2 separate regions of the Homo sapiens genome follow, and region 1 is linked to region 2. Evidence: promoter capture Hi-C in 16 types of primary human blood cells and fetal thymus (Javierre and others, 2016). All regions are on one chromosome and are shown on one strand. The core of a region is centred on a gene start or on the middle of the fragment in contact, and the rest is flanking DNA. Distances in the headings are between cores, read along the strand shown. Region 1 holds the start of CXCL2 (C-X-C motif chemokine ligand 2). Region 2 holds the start of PPBP (pro-platelet basic protein).

The links. Contacts are between HindIII fragments. The CHiCAGO score rates a contact against its expected background, and 5 or more counts as called.
Region 1: a contact is called between a fragment that was not itself captured here and the fragment with the promoter of PPBP in region 2, in 1 of 17 cell types (megakaryocytes). The highest score is 16.4, in megakaryocytes.

What each region holds. Positions count from the first base shown.
Region 1 is chr4:74,096,122-74,099,930 of GRCh38, forward strand. CXCL2 (C-X-C motif chemokine ligand 2) reads right to left here and starts at 3,074. Exons shown (of 4, transcript NM_002089.4): 1 at 2,900-3,074; 2 at 2,678-2,801; 3 at 2,480-2,563; 4 at 919-1,650. The coding sequence starts at 2,999. The coding sequence ends at 1,635. The HindIII fragment of the contact is 364 bases long and covers 2,172-2,535 here.
Region 2 is chr4:73,986,827-73,991,243 of GRCh38, forward strand. PPBP (pro-platelet basic protein) reads right to left here and starts at 1,364. Exons shown (of 3, transcript NM_002704.3): 1 at 1,130-1,364; 2 at 691-826; 3 at 1-548. The coding sequence starts at 1,277. The coding sequence ends at 446. The HindIII fragment of the contact is 3,234 bases long and covers 1-2,795 here.

The DNA.
Region 1 (3,809 bases), core at 1,104-3,603, 110 kb after region 2:
AGCAAACAAATGCGATCCCTTGTTAAGATAACTACAAGAATTTAATTTTTTTTAAATGAAAACAAGTTTATTAAGAAAGTAAAGCAATAAAGAGTGGCTATTCCATAGGCAAAGCAGCAGCCTGAGCTGCTGGTTGGCCATTTTTATGGTTATTTCTTGATTATATGCTAAACAAGGGGTGGACTATTCATGAGTTTTCTAGGAAAGGGGTGGGCAATTTCCTAGAACTGAGGGTTCCTCTCTTTTTTAGACCATACAGGGTAACTTCCTGATGTTGCCATGACACTTGTAAACTGTCATGGGGCTGGTAAGAGTGTCTTTTAGCATGCTAATATATTATAATTAGTGTATAATGACGAGTGAGAACGACAGAGGTCACTCTCGTCTCCATCTTGGCTTTGGTGGGTTTTAGCTGGCTTCTTTACTGTAACCTGTTTTATCAGCAAGGTCTTTATGACCTGTATCTTGTGCCAATCTCCTATCTCATCCTGTGACTTCGAATGCCTAACCTACTGGGAATGCAGCCCAGCCCAGTAAACCTCAGCCCCATTTTGCCTAGCCCCTATTCAAGATGGAGTTGCTCTGGTTAAAACGTCTCTGCCATATTTCCCCCCTCCATATTTTTAAGGAGGTAAATTTGAGTAGCAAGGTAGTAAGGAACTTCTTGTAAAAATGGCAATATGTATCAGTGATTCTCCCATCAGGGGCAAGACCATAGTTTGGTAAGGCACATTCTTTACTAGGTGAGAGCCAAGGGGAGTGACAGCAATCACCACATGAAATTAGGCATAATTCATAGTTTATCTGTATAGCAGATTGAAAACCCAGAAAAAAATTGAGAAATAAATATTGATGTAAATCATCAGATTTTTCAGCAAATATAGTCCTTGTTTCCCCCAAAATAAAACAAACATTTTATATTTTTAAATATTTTATTTTCCTGTTCTTTGTGAAAACATCAATAAATATCGAAACCTCTCTGCTCTAACACAGAGGGAAACACTGCATAATTAACATTAAACAAGGCAGTATGCCTTACAAGAAAGACATAAAATGTCCAAGGGATATTTAGAACATTTTAGTTCTTAAAGCTTCAACATGAGAAATGTTGACCACACACTGTGAAATCATTTCAATAAATAACAACTGACATTCATCTTTACAGTTACAAAATAGACACACATACATTTCCCTGCCGTCACATTGATCTCACTGGCCATTTTCTTGGATTCCTCAGCCTCTATCACAGTGGCTGACATGTGATATGTCATCACGAAGAAATATTAACAAATGACTAGAGAATATCTGCAAACCTTCTATCTTCAAATTAAATATGAATCAGGATTGAACTAACTTGGGTTTGACCTAAAATAAACAATAAATATAATGGGAGAGTGTGCAAGTAGATTCAATCATAACCTTATTTTACACATAAAATATTAACATAGAATCTTCTAAAACAAACAAATAAATAAATAAATAAATAAATAGAAGACTTCTCCTAAGTGATGCTCAAACACATTAGGCGCAATCCAGGTGGCCTCTGCAGCTGTGTCTCTCTTTCCTCTTCTGTTCCTGTAAGGGCAGGGCCTCCTTCAGGAACAGCCACCAATAAGCTTCCTCCTTCCTTCTGGTCAGTTGGATTTGCCACTGTAATGAGAAAATGGGTGCCCTGAGTAGGTGCTCAGGAAAGCTGACTGCACAACAGTCTTCTCCTGTCCTGTTTCCCCAGGCTCTAGAGTTTTCTGAATGCAGTTTCCCCAGCCTGGCACCCAAGTGGGTACTGCCTGTGACAGCTGTGCTGTGTGGCAAGGACCTCTAGGCTTGGGATGCTCTTTTAGGAATGGGGGTGACGTGGGGTGGAGGAGTGGCAGTCTACACTGTTTTACTGGCTAAAACAGCCAGAGCCTATTGCTCTTTGTCATACTGGGCCTCACTTGAGCCTCAAAGCAACCTCATGATGTAGCTACCATTATTTTCCCTGTTTTGCTGAGTCTCAGATAAACTAAATAATATTGTCTCTGAGTGACATGGCTAATAGGTGGTGGCAACCAGTTATATACCCAGTGCAATATTATTGTGAAATCTCTGCACTTCAACCCTAAACTTTTACAAAAAACCAGGGGGTCTGCTTTTCAGGTCTGAAAGTCAGTAGGAACTAGGGGAAATGAAGCTTGTGTTTTTTAACAGGTGGAAAACACTTCAGCACAACTGGCAAACTCCAATGAGACCTTACATGAAAGCAGTTTTACCTACATTCACTGGCAGGAGGGAAGAACCTGGGTGGTGACCCTGGGCACTGGGAATATCCTCTGGCACCAGAACAGATTAATAACCTTAATGGCAACTTTGTGAAAATAATAATTTTTTCAGTCCTGCAGCTAACCCTGGGTTTTCCTGATTTACTTTTTAGGGGGCAGACGCCAGTATTTCTGACCAACAGCTCCAGTCGCCTGTGTACATGGAAATTATAACTTACTTTTTCAGCATCTTTTCGATGATTTTCTTAACCATGGGCGATGCGGGGTTGAGACAAGCTTTCTGCCCATTCTTGAGTGTGGCTCTGCAGAGAGAAGGGAATCTCGTGAGACAGGAGGTCGGGCTGAGGACAGGGTTTGGGGCAGCGGGAGAGTCGGGGACCCCAGCAGTGGCAGCGGCAGCGATGGGCGAGACTTACATGACTTCGGTTTGGGCGCAGTGGGGTCCGGGGGACTTCACCTTCACACTTTGGATGTTCTTGAGGTGAATTCCCTGCAGGGTCTGCAAGCACTGGCAGCGCAGTTCAGTGGCCAGGGGCGCTCCTAGGGAAGAAGAGACTCGCTGATTGAGCGGGGCTGTCGGCGCGGGGCGCCCACCCCAGCCGCGTCCGGCCCGGGGACCCCAGGGCGCCGGGACCCACCTGCTGCGCGCCGGCTGGCGGCCACCAGGAGCAGGAGCAGCAGCGCCACCCGCAGGAGCCGGGGATTGCTGGGGGCGGCGGAGAGCGTGGCGCGGGCCATGGGGCTCAGCAGGCGGTTCGAGCGGCTGTGCGAGGAGGAGAGCTGGCAAGGAGCTGCCTGTGGCCCGGGCTCTGTGGCTCTCCGAGAACGGCGAACCCCTTTTATGCATGGTTGGGGCTGGAAAGCCCGGAGTCCCGGGCCAGGGAAATTCCCGGAGCTCCAGATCGATCCCGAGTTCGGAAGGAAGGCGATGGCCCCGCCTCTGGGGTGGAGGGGGGTCGGGGCACTCACGAGTGACGTCCGGGTCTGACTGTCTTGCGTAACTCCCGCCAACTGTGGGATGTTCTCTTTCTGCCCCGAATCCCTGGAGCGGGAGCGAGAGCCCGCCGCTCTCAGAGATACCGAGATAACCGCCTGCGAGGAGGCGCTTCGTGAACCCAGTGCAGTGCGTCGTGGGTCAGATCCCTTAGACCCACGTAGGGACCGCGCTACATCCTTACCGGGGGGAGTTACTTCTCTGGAAGACATTTCAGTTGTTGGGATTGAAAGTTAGGGCAAGAACTGCAGCATGTCTTATCTATCCTCTCTCTTTAGTTTGGGTTCTGCAAATTTCATTAATGTTTGAAATAAACGCACGCTTTAACAGTACATGTGTCATCTCAGATGACGCATAAGAGCTTTTGTCTCCTTCCTGGTGTTTTATGATCTTAAAAGCAAATATCACGTGTGTGTGTGTGTGTGTGTGTGTGTGTGTGTGTGTGTGTGTGTGTTTCAACGTAGTGGAGCCAGGTGTTGGGTGCGGGAACAGACCATTGCCAAGGGTCAATTCAGTGTTTATTTTAGTTAACAGTGTTGCAATCCCCCATCCTT
Region 2 (4,417 bases), core at 114-2,613:
GACTCCATTAAGTTCCTAAATATATTAACAAAAATGTATTGAGCAAATATTCTCTGTTGGGCTCCATGTAATTCCTATTATCATTGACCATTATGAAATCTAATAATACCCATGAGTATGTCTAATAACCATAAAGTAGACCAGGAAAAATCAACCAAGTTGTGTTAGAATAGAAATTTTTAAAGAAAAAAATGCAAAGTACAGTCCAATGTTTAGGCAAGAATTAGAGGGTTGAAACCAGGCTTATTTATTTTCATCTTCTTTCTGCCATCTTTTAACCAACCTTCTCAGAATAAAATGTGATTTTTGAGACAGAATGAAACACATATCCAAATTTTAATACAGTAAGAATAGGTATCCTGAATAAATGAGAACTCTAGAAAATCAAGGTTTCAAAATTCTACCCTTCCTGGGAGTTAAAGAAGTTTGGCAGAAACAGAACAAATTAATCAGCAGATTCATCACCTGCCAATTTTTTCTGTACAATTTTCTTGATTCTGGGAGCATCTGGGTCCAGGCAGATTTTCCTCCCATCCTTCAGTGTGGCTCTGCAAAAGAGAACAGGGTTATCTGTGGGTGTCCTGATCTGAATATCAGAACTAATCCATGAGACTGGAGGAAACGAGTGCATATGTGGATGGAGGTAGAGGGTTTCTCTGATAAGGCAATAGCACAGAAACAGCAACTTACATCACTTCGACTTGGTTGCAATGGGTTCCTTTCCCGATCACTTCCAAACTTTGGATGTTTTTGGGATGAATTCCAGAGGTTGTCTTTATACACATGCAGCGGAGTTCAGCATACAAGTCACTGTCTAGACTTTCCTCTAGGGTAGAAAATGTGACCTATTGGTGGTCATGAATATTTTCCTCAGGTCTCTTATTTGCAGATTGAGGGCAATTGTACCTCTCTCATAAAGCCATTGTGAATATGATCTGTAACGCTTTAGTAAAGTGCCCAGAAGATTGCCCAGCACACAAGAAGTGAGAAGTGACCCCCCTGTGTGTCTCCTCCAATTGGAGTTATTGGTATAATGGCCCTCTCCAGCCCCAAAGGCACCAAGCTAGTCTTTACCCCAGAGACAGGTGTAGCAGAAGCAGCAACAAGTGCAGAGAAGCAGGGCCTCTACCTTTGCCTTTCGCCAAGTTTCTCTTAGTTTGTCCTTTGGTGGAGGAAGCCAGAGCAGTCAGCAGCAATGACAGAAGCAGCAGCACCTGCAAGGCATGAAGTGGTCTCGCACTGTTACAGGAAGGGGTGGTATCAAGTCTGAGGCTCATGGTGGAGAAGGCTGAGCTAGAGTTGTTTCCAGAACCAGAAGACCTCTGAGTGAGGGTGAGTTGCTGCCTACAAGTCTGCAGATAAGTGGCTTCTCATGCCCTGAAGATGTCATTTATATGCTCTTTCTCAAAGCCAGTAAGAAGGAAGAGGTAGGAAAGGAGGAAGTGAGGGTATGTGGTGATACACACATAAGCATTTGAAGCTGTGCCCAACCCAGAGAAAGACCAGACAGGTCAAATTCCTACTAACTTGCTTAATGTGCATCACTTCACATTCCCACTCTCCCTTTCTCAATACTTATCTTCCTTACACCTGTGTAAGAACTCCGTTCAGGAAGGTAAGAACTAGACTGAAATACTACATGCATTTTCTTTGTATGATTTATAACAATACGCCCTGCCTTTTCTATACTGCAGTTTTTAGGCTTAATAGAAACTTTAGGAGCACCTGAAGGCACAAACATGTGGCCCTTGAAAGAGAAAGTTATCTTTGCTTGCCAAAGAAAGCAAATGTTCTTTTCATGAATGTTGATAAATATTGGGATTGGTTTGGAGCATGTAAGTAAAATAAGAGCCAATTACCGTCAAAGGTTGTCTTTGGATTTTAGCTTATTGGATTCTTTCTGCCTTCAATCTATATTATCTTTTGTAATTTCATCTAGAAACTACAAATGAAACTCATCCTCCTTTATATTACAAAAGAAGCTACTTGTTTCTACCACCTAAGAATACCTAAAAAGTAGGACCCAGCATATTTATTTTTCTTTTTATTTTTAATTTAACAGAAAAATTATATAATTTATTGCAAAAGATTCGTATGCTGCAGATGTCTTTGAAATAAAACACAAATTTCTCTTCATCATTTCTCCACATTCCTACTATTCAGTGGTAAACACTGGTAACAATTTTGCATTAGTTTTCAATTCTGTCTGCACTTATATGCACACATGTATATGTATACAATGAGACACGTTTAAGACATAGAGGTACACATATACATAGAAGTATTGTATATGGATCACTATACAGCTGACTTTTATCCTTCAAAAAATATGTGTTCCTTATCTTTTCAGGTCATCTTAATGTAGTTTTCCCCCATTCTTCTTAATGACCATGTGACGTCCTGTGATAAGAACAATAGTTACTCAACCTTGCCTTGTTGGTGCCCTTCACGGTGTTTCCAATTTTGCACTATTAGAAATTGTGCAAGAAATGTCCTTACCAAGGAAAATATTTGTTCCTGAATTCTCAGACCCAAATTAAAGGTTTTGGTCTGAAATGCTATATCCCTACAAAGATAGAGAGGTGGACCTACACATTACATGTTGGCTTTATGTTATTTTCTGGTTCTCTGTCCCATCTGTAAGACTTCCTTCCTCAATTGAACCATGCACTTTTGTAGGGAGTGGCATGTCCTGTGTTTGTTTGAATGTCTCATGTATCCTATAACATGTAGGATACTTCAATATAAAGTAGGTCTTAAATAATTAATAAATCAATGAATACGTATCACATGAAAGCTTCCCTATCCTTTCTAATCACCTACAATTCCAGGCCAAACTCGACAGGACCCAAAGCAACTATGCTATTTAAATTTATTTGGAAGATTGTCAATAAAGAAGAGGCAGATGTAAGTGGCACTGGCAACAAGTTTTCTTCCTTTTACAACTATGTATAAGTCTCACAGAATATTATTTAAATTTTCCATATTCTTTTCTTACTTTTCATATCCTTAAATTTTAGAAGAAATGCTTAAAATACTAAATGTTCAAAATTACTCTCTATCAAAAAGATGAATATAGTAATTTTTTAAATCATGTTTTTGTTTTCAAGCCAATTTTCCCTATTGTTTAATAGTTATCTACTATGTCTACTCAAGTTCTCAGGTCCTGTTTTTAAATGCGATAACCTACAGACCACATTTGACAGTTTACTTTAGAAGTAAGCAGACTTCCAAATTAACTCGCCCTGGAAAGGTTTCGTGACTTGATGGTGACATTCTATCTCTGAGTAAAGTATTTTATTACGAGTTCCTCAAATGATTGATGTACTAATTACTGTAGAACCTACTGACACTAAATAGGACAATGATTTATTTCTAAGTTTAGCTGAAACAAAAAGTTTTATTGATTGTTTTGTATGTAGACATTTAGCCTGTATGCTGTAATCTGTAGCTAATGATTTTAACTTCGGTATTGTACCCTCCAATGAAAAAGAAGACAACTCTGGTATGAGGAGTTTTTCTGCCTTATTTTAAGCTTTTCTATTATATAAAGCCCTTGTAACTTGTGAAAGACTCTAGAACACCCCCAACTTTGTGGATGTGTCTTCCCAGGTCTGTCTTCCCAGTTGGCTTTCAATAAACATGTATAAAATTATTTCTGCCTCACTAGCCTTAGTTTCAGTTGATGAATGTATTTCTTATTTTTCTCCACCTCATTTATTGTTTTCTTTAAATTAGAGTTTAGCAGTAGAGCATATTTAATTGGAATGATTTTTCTCCCTGTCACAACATAGAAATTTCTAGTCTTAAGCAAGCTTAAAGGAAGGGTGTAAGCTGAGAGTTCGGAGTCTTCTGAGAGTTGAGATGTGGAGTTAATTGCAGAGATAAGCTCAGCAGGACACAAAATGAGGGGAGCAGACTTCTTTCTCTTTCCTCCTGTGGGGTGACTTTATAGCTTTTCTTCATTATTGAGATTGAGATATTGTGAATTCGCAAGTCATATACATTTTCAAACATAAGATCAAAGCCATTTCCAGAACAAGATATAAAGGTTTTTTTTTTAACACTATTCATAGTATATTTCATTTTCTGTTCAACACCAAAATACATTGCTGAAAATGTTTATTGGCTTCACTGGACACCTTTTTTCCCCCTACTTAACGTTATCCAGATTTCTTTCCTCGTTCATTAGTAAGATTTCCTAAAAGTTCCTAATCGTTTTAAGAAAACTGTATGAAAAGTTTTCTGAAGTAATGATGCTTTTGAGTGAGTTGATACCAGGAAAAAGGTAGGCTCTTTCCTACCAGGAAACCAACTGGTGGGTTAATACCAGGAAAGAGGTGACTCCAGTATCATGGAGTCATTGTCTTAATCAACAAATGTGGCTTGTCACGAAAGACACATCGTCGGCAAAATT